Regions from separate parts of the Homo sapiens genome. Here regions 1, 2, 3 and 4 are each linked to region 5. Evidence: promoter capture Hi-C in 16 types of primary human blood cells and fetal thymus (Javierre and others, 2016). All regions are on one chromosome and are shown on one strand. The core of a region is centred on a gene start or on the middle of the fragment in contact, and the rest is flanking DNA. Distances in the headings are between cores, read along the strand shown.

Region 1 (2,700 bases), core at 174-2,673, 340 kb after region 5:
TGCCCACAAAGGCAGGAAAAATAAAAGGACCTACAGAAAAGTAAAGCAGAAAGAGAACACAAGTGTATGGTGGTCCTGAGAGGTTTTAGAATAGAGAGGAGTCCAAAGAGAGCAGGTGAATCAAAAGGTTCCAGGCCAGAAGAGACCTTGGGTTTTCATGATGACGAGACCCTCCTGTGGCCTGTGGAGCTGGCTCTCATCAGGTCATCAGAGCCAACTGTGCGCATTGCTTCCCAAGTACACGTCATGTTGGGAGTGGGAGATTGGCTGTGTGAAAAAATGTCTACACCACGGAAATTGGCAGATATATGGTGACCCAGCAAACACAGTTGACACCTGAAACATAATTTTTAGGAATAGTATTTAACCTTGTATGCGGGATCCATTCTGACCTCTATCCTTCCCTTCTTACCTATTTCATTAAAACAGAAGAAAAAGCTGGTGTAACTCATTGAACTGATTTCATGACCTGCAGTTTGAAAAACATTATTTTAGAGAAAACTGGGGATTATGTATGCCTTACAAAGTCAGAAGACAATTATTTTAAAAATAAATTATAGTAACAATTGTAGATAGGATGATTTCATCTTGAAAGGAGGAAAAAAAGAATCCTAAAAGGCTGACAAGATGACCTCTCTAGACTAAGGACTAAGTATGCATGCTTACAGGAGAAGAAAAACGAGCAGAGAGAAGCGGGAGCCCTCAGAGATGGAGGGAGGAAGGGGCTGGGAGCACGGCCTTGTGTTTGCCTGGGGAGAGGAGGCCGTGTTTTGATAGTGAAAGCTTGTTTTAGAGAAAGTCACCTGTTCTGGAGGATTGAGGAATGAAACTGGAAACCTTAGGAAAAAAGCAAAGACATCGGATGTACTTGGTATTTTTTAAATTGCTTTTATTTAGTTAGCTGGAAATGCACTTTCTCAGATCCACTGTCACTCCTGCAAATTACAAGAGCGCTCAGCCACCCTGTCGAAGGTCATCCGGCTTCCAAGCAGCAAATTGGACCTTGAGCCCTCGTGCTGCCCTTGTTGCAAAGCTCTTTGTCCACACTCGCTGGCAGAGGTGGAGAGTACAGAGGGGAGGATGCTTGGCCTGTGGTGGTCTGGCCAGCCAGGGCAGGCATGAGCTCGTCACAGGCCAGGCAGTCATCGAGTGCTCTTTGTGGCCTGAAGTGGATTTGGCAGGTGCCTGTTATTTGATCAGTGTCGATGGCCAGTCGACACAAGTAAATGAATCCCCAAACTTTACTCTGACCCACCTGCTTTAAACAAATTGGAGGAAGTCATCAAGTTAGTTTCCCTAGTTTCCTCTCTGAGGACAGTCTGGGGGCTGAGGCCTGGCTGAGTCCTGTCTCCTCAGGACAGGCCCAAAAGGAGGTACAGGGCGGCCTGGGGGACAGCAAGGTTCAGAGTTTCAGGGCTATGGAGATCCTGGAGCTGATAGACGAGTGTCAGCCACAAAGGTGAAGCTGGATTTCAGGACCACAACAGGCGGCAGCTGGGAGTTACGAAGGGGGCAGGGCTGGGTTGCGGCCTCAGGTGCTCCTCTGGGTTGGGGCTTCTCTCCTCAGCCCCGCAGGTGCGGGTCGGGCAAGCCTGTGATCATAAGACAGGGCTGAGGGGGTCTGGGGAAGGGTACGGGAACCAGCAAGAGAGACCAGGGTGGGGCTGATCTTACACCCTCCACCGAACACTTGAGTTTCCTGCTTGTCAGTGTCCACTTTTGCGTATGTGGGATTTTGGATTGTTCCTTTTAGAGTCTCATGTGTACCCGACACACTACTGTTCATATTGCCCAGTAGCTTTATATATATGTAAATATATATATATATATATGGGTGCTAAATATTTATCAAATGAATAAAGGAGGAAATGCAGATTCCAGTTATTCATGGTGATGTTGGGAAGTACTGAAAGTCCTCTTAAATTCAAATATCAGAAATATGCTCTCCCATCTAATAAATACTTTTTGATGGTGCTGGTATTAATATTCAGATATGATATATATTTAATATTTATTTTTAATATTAATATTCATATATATATATTTTTTAACAAGAAGCTTTACATTCTTCATCTTGTGATTTTTTGGTTAAAAGAAAGGAAGTCTGTTTATAATGCTGTGCATTATTTCTATAAATCGCCCTCTGTACACAGGGATGTCAGATGCTGCCCAAGAGAATCTGTTTCATATGGTAATTTTCACTAATGAATCCAGACCTATACTGTTAAATTTTGCCCCAAACTGCCTGGGATGAAGTAGAGGAAGCTCATGGCAGTGAGCGTGACAGTTCTTAGAGGACGCTATCATAGTGTTTCATAACAGATGCAGAGGCTCTGCAGTTCTGAATATTAATACCAGCACCATCCAAAAGTATTTATTAGATGGGAGAGCATATTTCTGATATTTGAATTTAAGAGGACTTCCAGTACTTCCGAACGTCACCATCAATAATTGGAATCTGCATTTCCTCCTTTATTCATTCGATAAATATTTAACACCCATTATGTTCATGGCATCACATTAGACTCTGGGGGAGTTACAAAGAACCTAGGCTGGGCTCTGCCCTCAAGGGGGAAATAAAAGAAACAATTACATGTAATTGTTTTTAACACCAAGCAGCGTGAAACCCAGCTCTGGAGCAGCCTGGTCACAAGGGGGAGAAGAGGTCACGGGAGCCCCTCCAAGGCCAGCGCACATGTG
Region 2 (2,700 bases), core at 32-2,531, 300 kb after region 5:
CCACGCTGAGCACAACCCTGAGTGTCCTTGAAGTCTGAGTCCTGTCAAGGACCGAGTTGTGTCCCCTTCCGCCAAAATTCACATGTTGAAGCCCTAACCTCTAATGGAACTGTATTTGGGGATAGGGCCTCTAAAGAGGTAATTAAGGTAGAAGAAGGTCTTATGGTTAGGACTTAATCTAATATGACAGGTTTCCTTAAAAGAAGAAATTAAGACAAACAACAGAGACCTGGTCAGGACAGGGAGGGAAGGCAGCTGTCTGTCTGCAAGGCAGGCAGCTGTCTGTCTGCAAGGCAGGCAGAGAGACCCCAGGAGAAACCAACCCTGCCGACACCTTGATCTTGGACTTCCAGCCTCCAGAACTGTGAGAAAATACGTCTGTTGTTGAAGCCACTGGTCTGTAGTATTTTGTTATGGTAACCCCAGCAAACTAATACAGGGCTGCTTTGAGCTCTTTCATTCTCTGTTCTCTTTTTCTCATCTGTCTCTATATCTACCTTTTTGTCACACTCTTTGAACTTTAAGAAAGAGATACTTTACCTCCAGCCTCTAAATCTCTCTTGCTGCCTGGGAGGTAATTTACTTCTAAACATATCCAATTTTTCTTTGTCTTTCCAGTCTTTAAGAAAAGGGGGCAGGATTTAGATAATAAGTAGATCTTAAGTAACATTCTTTTCTTTACCTTGTATTATTTTCATACTCACCCTTTCCAAAAACTAGGTTCCTTTGTGGCTTGAGCTATGCAGCTGGCTCTCAGGTCAGCCTGCAGGACACGAGGGCAGGAGGTGGGTGTGTTTGCATCAGAAAGAACATGCTCTCACTGTGACTTCACTACAAACATTAGTCTTAAACAGTGCTTCTCAAATAGTCTGGGAGGGAGGACCTGGGATTTCCCCACGATCTGTACCGAATCTATATTTTTTGTCAAATAAGATCAAGGGATTTCTAGAAAAAAAATGAAGACATACAAAATACAGGTCCCAGGTTTTTATTATTAGATTCAATAGACAGAGAATTACTCTGTCCGATTGCTTTAATTGTTTCTAAACGGTTACTTTCAATGTCTGTACTTTTCACACACACTCAACATGCAGTGCAAAGACAGACACTGGTCTATGGAGCACGCTTTCAAGACAGCTGGCCCAAAGGGTGGTGCCAGTGATTTCCATTCTTTCTCATTGGTTTTAATAATCTCACTCAGAGTCAGCTGAGCTGTGTGTCTGGAAGAACTTCTCCCAGACTTTCTCTCTCTTTTTTCTGCCCCCTGCCTTCCTGTTGGGGTTCATCCCACTGAACTTTCCTTCATGGTCAAGGCTGGGGAGAAGGTGGTTATTCCTGAGGGTTCCTGGGGAGACCTGCAGTGCTCTAGAAGTGCAAGCTCAAGTTTCTCGGTTCCTCTGAGTGGAGCGTCTAGAAGATGGAACGCTCTCTTGCTCTATGACAGCCTCTGCCATATTTGACTCTTTTTTTTTGAGATGGAGTTTTGCTCTTGTTGCCCAGGCTGGAGTGCAATGGCTCGATCTCGGTTCACCGCAACCTCCGCCTCCCGGGTTCAAGCGATTCTCCTGCCTCAGCCTCCTGAGAGCTGGGATTACAGGCATGCACCACCACACCCTGCTAATTTTTTGTATTTTTAGTAGAGATGGGGTTTCTCCATGTTGGCCAGGCTGGTCTCGAACTCCTGACCTCAGGTCATCCACCCGCCTCAGCCTCCCAAAGTGCTGGGATTACAGGCGTGAGCCACTGCACCTGGCCATATTTGACTCTTGATCACTCTTACTTTCCTGCAACCTCTCCTTTGTCTCCTTCTTGATATCAGTCTGTCCATGGGCAGCCAGACTGGCAATATGTGAGAGGAAGCTGCAGTAACAGCTTTCTGGGTACAGGAACTTCTCCACCATCTGTTATGGTAAGTGGGAGAGCAGAGTGATGGGCAGAAATTCAGGGAATGGAATCATCTGGAACTCCTGAGGAAGTATGGAGCCAAGAGCTACATCATTCACTGGAATAAACCTTCCCCAGGGAAGTTATTGTCACATAGTATGTTTAGTTTATTGTTCAATAATAAACAGAAGGTTGCAAGACAATAATCTTTAGGCTGGCATATTAAGAGTGTGGATGGCTAAAGCCAAGCAGAATGGACCCTACTCAATTTCCCATCGCTACCTGGACAACAATCCTGCCCTGCCTCTCATCTATCTCATGACCAATACATACCAATTGGCACCTAATAAGGTCAGTTTTGTGAGGCTGGATTCCCCTGGAACTATTCCAACTGGTTTAGAATGAGCATAAGAGGTCACCATGCCATTTTTTTTTCCCATGCAAGTGCAGCCTACCTCAACAAGAAAACATCCTATCCAACCAGGGCACCTGGTTTCTAGAAGAGGTGGATGCGTGTGCCACTTCTGTTTTCTTGGAGGACCAAGATGCAAGGTACTCCCAGAGCAAAAGGGATCCTTTTGTATGGTCAGGCTGTAACAGATGTGGGTGAGTCTGGTATGGGCCTAAGGAAGTAACTCTGACACTAGTTGATTCCAAAGAAATATTGTTCCGCAATAAACATACGTGTGCATGTGTCTTTATAGCAGCATGATTTATAGTCCTTTGGGTATATACCCAGTAATGGGATGGCTGGGTCAAATGGTATTTCTAGTTCTAGATCCCTGAGGAATCGCCACACTGACTTCCACAATGGTT
Region 3 (2,700 bases), core at 179-2,678, 320 kb after region 5:
ACACTGAAAGCTTACATGCTGCTTGACAAATGTGAATTTTAAAAAGTAAGAATGATTGGCACTTGGTAACTTACACAGAAATAGAAAGTGGTACGAGAAAATTGCCCATTTCTTTTAGATTTAATATGTTTTTTTTTCTTTTAAGAAGCAATAAGACATGTAATTTCCATCCACTTCAACCAGTTGTGTATGAAAGAGGCTACAAGTTCAGCTCTGTAGAAGCAAAGAAGTCATGGGGAGAGGCATCACACCAGGAAAGAGGAGACAGCCTTCCCCTCCGCCTTCAGCTCTGCTGTACGAGAGATGGTCATTTTCAGGCCAAGCCCCAAATCCTAGGACTGAGATCCATGCCTCCTTAAAATGATACTGTTCACTCTTGTTTCCCTGACCCACCAGCCCCAATGTCTCACTTATCAAATGTCTCTCCAGGTCTATGAATTGCAAGGAGAAAAAGGAGGCGGATAGGGAAGTAGAACCAGAGTTCACAGACAAAGACTTCTCTCTATGAGTTAGATGCTCCAAACAATTTGGCATAGAACAATGATTTTCTATTAACTCATTTATTTAGTCAACAAATATTTATTAATAAAAAACGGCAAAACACCCAGCTTTGTGCATATGCCATGTTAACATTTCCTTATTGATCTTCATTGAAAAAAAAGATTTTTTTTTTTTTGAGATGGGGTCTCCCTCTGTCACTCAAGCTGGAGTGCAGTGGTGCAGTCACAGCTCACTACAGCCTCAACCTTCTAGGCTCGAGCAATCTTCCCTCCTCAGCCTCCTGAGCAGCTGGGACTACAGGCATGCACCACCATGCTTGGCTCATTTAAAACTTTTTTTTTTTTTTTTTTTTGCAGAGACTGGGTCTTGCATAGCCCAGGCTGGTCTCAAATTCCTGGGCTCAAGCGATCCTCCCACCTTGGCCTGCCACTTTGCTGGGATTACAGGAGTGAGTTCATTACAACAAACCCGGCCCTTCATTGTAATTTTGAAGATGTATAATGACAAAGTAATTGGTGGCTTCAACTCATAACAAAAACGCTGTTTAGGGATCCTGATTTTTTTTCTGATAGGAGTGCTCTGTCATGTCAATTTGCAGTCTGTATGCCCTTCATGGAACACAAACAACTGACCTCATGCTCTAACATACATACGAAAATGTATATACAGGTTGAATATCCCTTCTCCAAAATGCTTAGGACCAGAAGTGTTTCAGGTTTTGGATTTTTTCAGATTTGGGAATATGTGCATATATGTAATGAGGTGTCCTGGGGATGGGACCCAAATCTAAACACAATATATATTTATGTTTAATATACACCTTACATACATAGCCTGGAAGTAGTTTGACAGGATATTTTTCATAATTTTGTGCACCTATCACATGAGGTCAGGTGTGAATTTCCCACTTGTGGGAGTGTCAGCACTCAAAAAGTTTCAGATCTTAGAGCATTTTGGATTTTGAATTTTCAGGTTAGGGATGCTCAACCTGTACTGTATTGATAAGACCACATATTTATTTTTTTCTAGAATTTTCATTGTGACTTTTTTGTGGTTTAGCAGACTTACAGTCATCCCTTACTTAAGATTTAAAAAGAGTTTTCTCTAGTTTGCACTTTAGCATGGAAACATAAACAATTATTCCTTTGAAAACCAGTCAAAGTGGCACTTTGCCTCTAAGTGCAGTTGTTATGCAAAGGAGTTTTTGGTCCTGACTGACAACCACCAAATTAAGAACAACAGGCAGTTTATAACAACATTTACTATGTTCACTGGGCCAGCAATAAGGTTCATTTTTTTCTGTGTTTATTTGCGGAGAGGGGAATGTGAGGGCAAGAACTGGCTTATAGTATCCATCATGGTATTTACAGCACTTAGCACATAGCAGGGAATTAATAAAAAATGAATATTGTTGATTTTACAGAGACTCCAAGAATGGAAGTAGCTTCTCAAGGTTACTCGGGTTGTAAGAAGTGGGAGTAGGGTTCAAAGTCTGGTCTGACTCCAAGGCCGGTGCTCTTTCTCTCATGACAAACTTGATGGACAGATTGGCCACCTTCCTGACTCCTTGCCTCTGTTTCCCCAGTCACAGGTCTCATCCTTACCTTGGCAGGCAGAGGAGGTGGAAGGAGGGGCAGGTAGTATCTCGGTACGGCAGACATTTGCAAATGCCATCAACCCCTCTTCTGAGGCAGCCCTGGAAGAGTCTTACCTTGACTTCTGTTTTTAATCGGGATCCCCTACCTAAGGCACACTGAAATATTAATATATTCCAGGTTATGCTCTAGACTAGACATAGATAGCACGAAACCCCATAAACAAAAGGGCCAAGACAGTAGTCCTTAGGAATGTGCTGATTGGGTTCAACCTGTGTGAGGCCCTCAAGGAAGGCCAATCTAGATAGGGCTGAACACATACCTAACCTCTGTATCTGTAGTAGGTGGAGAAAGATCCTCAATTATAAGCCCAAATACAAGGTATTAGCAAGAGAGATTTAACACCTACAGTCACACTTGGAGTTACAAGGTGTTAATGAGAAAGACATACCAAGGAATATATTTCTCCCCCCTTTGGCCGCGTGGCTTCACTATTGGTGTACAATATTTGAAACCTCAAGTTGTGAAACTCTGAACCAGGAGGGTTTCCTGTATTATGAATGATGTCATCTTTAAGATGAGGGACTTTCAGTGAAATGCGGGA
Region 4 (2,700 bases), core at 78-2,577, 290 kb after region 5:
GGCAAAAGTCCCTCCAAAGGCTCTAGAAGAGAATGCTGTGCTTCCTCTAGTTTCTGGGGTCTTCATGTGTCTTGTGGCAGCGTAACTCCCATTTCTACCTCCTTCTCTACGTGGCCTTTCTCTTCTTCTTCTTCTTTTTTTTTTTTTTTTTTTTTTTTTTGAGACAGGGTCTTGCTCTGTCACCCACGCTGGAGCGCAGTGGCACGATCTCGGCTCACTGCAACCTCCGCCTTCTGGGTTCAAGCAATTCTTGTGCTTCAGCCTCCCAAGTAGCTGGGATTACAGGCCTGCACCACCACGCCAGGCTAATGTTTGTACTTTTAGTAGAGATGGGGTTTCGCTGTGTTGGCCAGGCTGGTCTCCAATTCCTGGCCTCAAGTGATCCACCCACCTCGGCCTCCCAAAGTGCTGGGATTACAGGTGTAAGCCACTGTGCCTGGCCCCCACATGGCCTTCTTGTAAGGACACCATTCATTGGATTTAGGGCCACCCTAATCTAGTATGACCCAATCTTAACTAATTATGTCTGCAAAGACCCTATTTCCAAATAAAGTCACAGTCGGAGGTTGATGTAGACATGAATTTGGGGGATGCTGTTCAGTATAGCGCAGGAGGGTTAGGTAGCATTGGGTCTGGGTGGCTGGGTTTGACAGCTCACTTGTGGCCTCTGTACTAGCTCAAGCCTGATCTCAAACACACTGCTCCCTCCCATCATACGGTGGAATCCTGCTGGAATCACCAACAGTATGTCTGGTGGTTTGCTGGCTCCTAAGAGGCAGTTCTGGTGTCAGCATCACTTGATGTCCCATGTGAGACACTCAGTTTTCACCAGGGTCAGGGTCCCCTAGCATGAAAGGTGCTGCTTTTCGAATGGTGTATACTTTCATCTGGCAGATGACATGGCCTTGCTCCAGGATTCTAGGGTTCTGTGCTGTATCGCTTCTACAGGGAATTTCCAGAGACTTCATGTAACGTCTTTGTCTACTGTAGATACTTCCAGAACCAAGGGATCTTCCAGGACATGAGGCCCAAGCAGCAGTCCTGTTTGCCTCCTAGGCTGAATCTGCTTCAGAGCGCTCTCTTGTTCTGGACCCCAGCCAAAACCAGCAGCACTGAGCCAGCCAATAAGTTGGTCATAGAGATGATCCCAAGCATGGAGTATGCTGCTTCCCAAACCAAAGAGGCTTACTAAATATTGCACTTTTTTCTGCATGGGCCAAGATATAAGGCGAAATAACTTGTTTTTTACCTTGGAGGGGATATTGCAACACGCCCCAGATGACTGGACTCCTAATAACTGCAGCATTGTGTGAGGCACCTGAATCTTTCTAGTCTCTCTCTCGTCCCCTGGAGCACGTGTGTCCTACCAGGGTGTCTAGGATATTTATCACTTCCAGCTTATCAGGTCTGATGAACACAATGACATCAATAAAGTAGACCAGTGGGCTGTTCTATGTAACAGCAGAACTCTTCTGACTGTATTTTCAGAAGTAACGTAGCCCTGAGACAGGGCCATAAATGTTCACTGTTGTCCATCTAAAGTGACTGCAGTCTGCTTCTGATCCTACTTCCTGATGGGTGTGAGAAAAGAACACATTTGCAAAGACAGTGATCGTCTGTTCTAGAGAAGACACTTCTGGATTAACAGCTTCCATTGGGGCTATCACCTAATTATATTTGTAGAAGTCTACTGTCATCTGTCATGAGCCATCTGGTTTTTACAGGGGCTAGACTGGTAATAAAATGGGGATATAGGCCAGGCGTGGTGGCTCATTCCTGTAATTCCAGCACTTTGGGAGGCCAAGGTGGGTGGATCACTTGAGCCCAGGAGTTCAAGACCAGCCTGGGCACCACAGCAAAACCCTGTTTCTACCAAAAAACAATACAAAAATTAGCTGGGCATGGGGGTGCGCACCTGTGGTCCCAGCTACTCAGGAGGCAAAGGTGGGAGGATCGCTTGAGCCTGGGAGGTCAAAGCTGCAGTGAGCCAAGATTGTGCCACTGCACTCCAGCCTGGGCAACAGAGCTAGACCTTGTCTCAAAAAAAAAAAATGGGGATGTAATGAAGACCACCACCCTTGTATCCTTTAAAGTCTCCGAAGATTGTCTTAATCTCTGCCATTCCACCTGTTATGTTGTGCTGTTGTTTCTGATTGGCCACCGCCTGCTATAAGTAGGATACTACTCCTCTTACTTCACAAGTCACAGAGTCAAGTGGGGATATTGCTAGTGGCTCAGTGTGCCCACCCAGGTCATGGATTCTGGAACCAGGATGATGACCACCAAATGAGTGTGAGGGAGCCCCACTGTAAGTGGGCCTAGGCTAGAACCCCATTTTTTCACATTGTCTACATATGGTCCTACTAATGAGGGGGCATGATGACACTGGCATTGTTCGCTCAGCTGACCTCTACTTTTTCATCAGCCATTCTTTTTTTTTTTTTTTTTTGAGGCAGAGTCTCGCTCTGTCACCCAGGCTGGAGTGCAGTGGCGCGATCTTGGCTCACCATAACCTCTGCCTCCCGGGTTCAAAGAATTCTCCTCCCTCAGCCTCCCGAATTGCTGGGATTACAGGTGGCCGCCACCATACTCAGTTAATTTTTTTGTATTTTTACTAGAAACGGGGTTTCACCATGTTGGTCAGGCTGGTCTTGAACTCCTGACGTCAGGTAATCCACCCACCTTGGCCTCCCAAAGTGC
Region 5 (2,700 bases), core at 63-2,562:
AAACAATACAGCATTGTTACATCAATATAACAAAGACAGCAAGTTTGGCTAACCTTTAATCCCAAATGGTGACGCGAGTTATAATTTCATGTGCCTTAAAAATGTGGAACATATGGCTAAACACGTTACGGCACTCTTCAAACTCTGTTTTCTCTCCCCACCCCCACCACGAAGCCCTGCTTTATGCTGATAAACAATTACTAAATAATGCATTTATGTCATTCTAGTTCTGCCTGGTTTATCGGGGAGCTCTGCAACCAGCTGAGGTTCTTACAACAGGGCTGGACTTGAGAAGCACTTGGGATCTCATAAAATATACCTGGCATAGAGACTAGAAACATTATTTTTCTAAGCACTCTCCAGATTATTCTAATATGCAGTCAGGTTTGAGAACCACTAGGATGGGAGCATCTGAAGGAGTATCAGGGTCATGATTCTATGCGGTAAGCAGGAAAAAAGGAGTCTGGATGATAACAGCACGTGTGAAATTAAAGTCATGCGTCTGACTGGTGGTCAAGAGCAGTGCCTGCGTATCCCAAGATATGACTAATCACCCAAACAAGAACAACCAGTTTGTTTATCTGGCCAGTGACACACAGGATCTTTAAAGGGGCTTGCTGCTTGGAGCATCCCAAATAAGAGCAGAAGGTAAAGTAAGATTCCACAGGGAAAAGGAACACAGCTGGGTACTTTCCACAGAGGTGGCGCCTGAGACCAGCTTGGCATTCCTGAGGTGCTACCACGGGAGATGCCGGGAAGAACACGAAACCTGCCTGAACACAAAACTGACCAGGGACATCCCTAAAAATACTGCACCGCACTTGGAGGCACCAAGCAGGAGGGAAGTTTTAACTCCTCTCCGTGGTCATGTGGCTGTGAAAACCATGGACTGCTTCTCTCCCATGAGAGGCCCTGTGGAGTGGAGACTGCAGGATTAGAAAGTCTCAGGTGTGCCTGTCACGGTTTGGATAGGCTGGGCCTCAGCAGCAGGGAGAACAGTGGCTTTCAGGGGCCGGGAATGCGGAAGGGATATCCTCATCCTGTGACCCTCTGTCACCTCCATTTCCACTTTACCTGGCCCAGCTTAGGGCTCTGCTAACGGCCCAGCCAACTTCAGTAGCAAACGGGAAAGGTAGAGGAACCAGGAAGTGAGGAGCGCACTCCCGCTCCTTTGCTAATAATCCTAACTTGCTCTTGCTCCCCTGCCATCTGTCAGGGTTAGACTCTAGGTCATCCCTGGGGCTGGCAGAGAGAGAGAGAGAGACAGACACGCCTCCACCCAAGGGCCCAGGGCAGCTGCAGGCTCACACAGGGGTCAAGTACAGCCAGCCCAGCCGAATGTGGAGAGGAATTTCTTGTGCCTAGTCTCTTAGCTCTGTACCACAATCTCAGAGGAGGCCAGCAAGGGTCCAGGAGATAAAGGTAAGACAAAGGCTTTTCACTTTGGTTTCTTTGGATCTCCAATGATTAATAAAAACTTTGGATCTTTTCAAGTGCATAGATCTTTCCCAAGTTTTTTTATCTGTTGGTTGATTGCTTTATTTTCTTTTGGTGTAGAGCTCTGAACTTTTTTACTTTACGTTTCTTTAAGAAATCGCTTATGTAATCTGTACTTCTATTTTCTTTGTATTCATACTAGTTAGGGAGCTTATTCTAAAGTTGATTCAGTCTTTTCATACTCACTGCTGCAATGTTTCAAAGCCTTGTTCTTTATAGAGCAGTTCCTGCTTCATCTGTGAGAGCTCTCTCTTTAGCTTTTTAACCTTTAAAGAGAAATCAACATAAACATTAATGTTTGCAGATAATTAGCAACACAGTCTACAGTTTTAAAAGATAATAAATTAGTAAACAAACACATAAACAAAGCCATGAGTTAAAGTAACATTTACTTTATCAGTTTCTCCTTCACATAAATTCTGTGGAAGGCATATTAATGATGTTTAAAACTATCAGTGATGTGTATTATTACTACTATTTACCTTCATTACCTTACTTAGCAACATTCTTATGAGCTGGACATCATCATTGTCTCCAACCAAAATGGGCAGAATAAGAACTCCAAGTCATGGCATCTCTATAAAAGTGTGTGTTTTTCCTTCATTCACTGTGCCAAGGGCCACTGCCCACCCCTCCGTTCCTCAGATGTCCTGGCAGTTCCTTCTGCCTGGAAAGCTCTCCCCAGATCTCCCGCAGTTGACTCCCTGTCCCTCCAATGCTAGCTGAAATGTTATCTTTTCAAATAGGACTTCTCTAGCCCCCCTGCCCCTGCCACGGCTCTGTTTTATTTAGACCAGAGTATTTTTCAGGAGCTGAAATTCTCCGTGTACACTGTCTGTCCTCCGTGGGAAAGTAAGCTGCAACCCACCAGCTGTATCCCAAGCATCTACAACCATGCCAAGCAAACAGCAGATGATCAATAAATATTTGTTGTCAAACTGATAAAATATATTTTTCCTGTTGTCAAATATATACTTTGGTAATAACAATTCTAAAATTGGACAGATCAGAAAAGCAGCACACGCCTGGTTTAGTCACAAACTAATAAAGGTCTTCTCACAAGGGTTAGAAACTTACTTCCATATATTAAGTTAGAGCCTTAAGTTTTTTTCTGTTGTTTGTTTGTTTTTTTTTTGAGACAGAGTCTTGCTCTGTCGACCAGGCTGGAGTGCGGTGGTGCAATCTCGGCTCACTGCAACTCCG

Evidence for each region. Contacts are between HindIII fragments. The CHiCAGO score rates a contact against its expected background, and 5 or more counts as called.
Region 1: a contact is called between a fragment that was not itself captured here and the fragment with the promoter of WWC2-AS1 in region 5, in 1 of 17 cell types (megakaryocytes). The highest score is 6.0, in megakaryocytes.
Region 2: a contact is called between a fragment that was not itself captured here and the fragment with the promoter of WWC2-AS1 in region 5, in 10 of 17 cell types (megakaryocytes, erythroblasts, M1 macrophages and 7 more). The highest score is 34.0, in megakaryocytes.
Region 3: a fragment that was not itself captured here is called in contact with the fragment with the promoter of WWC2-AS1 in region 5 in 4 of 17 cell types (megakaryocytes, erythroblasts, M1 macrophages and 1 more); the score reaches 16.5 in megakaryocytes.
Region 4: a contact is called between a fragment that was not itself captured here and the fragment with the promoter of WWC2-AS1 in region 5, in 2 of 17 cell types (megakaryocytes and erythroblasts). The highest score is 8.5, in megakaryocytes.

Annotation. Positions count from the first base shown.
Region 1 is chr4:182,896,640-182,899,339 of GRCh38, reverse strand. The region is part of intron 3 of DCTD (dCMP deaminase); the gene reads left to right. Among named protein-coding and RNA genes, the nearest start is that of DCTD, 19 kb to the left of the region's middle. RefSeq lists an enhancer at 1,211-1,711. The HindIII fragment of the contact is 1,275 bases long and covers 786-2,060 here.
Region 2 is chr4:182,935,585-182,938,284 of GRCh38, reverse strand. LOC105377577 (a long non-coding RNA gene) reads right to left here and starts at 860. Exons shown (of 3, transcript XR_939536.3): 1 at 705-860. The HindIII fragment of the contact is 5,264 bases long and covers 1-2,700 here.
Region 3 is chr4:182,919,117-182,921,816 of GRCh38, reverse strand. No RefSeq gene overlaps it. Among named protein-coding and RNA genes, the nearest start is that of DCTD, 3.1 kb to the right of the region's middle. RefSeq lists an enhancer at 2,467-2,516. The HindIII fragment of the contact is 2,831 bases long and covers 13-2,700 here.
Region 4 is chr4:182,952,701-182,955,400 of GRCh38, reverse strand. No RefSeq gene overlaps it. Among named protein-coding and RNA genes, the nearest start is that of DCTD, 37 kb to the right of the region's middle. The HindIII fragment of the contact is 3,427 bases long and covers 1-2,700 here.
Region 5 is chr4:183,239,246-183,241,945 of GRCh38, reverse strand. WWC2-AS1 (WWC2 antisense RNA 1) reads left to right here and starts at 1,312. Exons shown (of 2, transcript NR_126473.1): 1 at 1,312-1,422. It overlaps WWC2 (WW and C2 domain containing 2), which reads right to left. Exons shown (of 23, transcript NM_024949.6): 5 at 1,684-1,763. The HindIII fragment of the contact is 11,540 bases long and covers 1-2,700 here.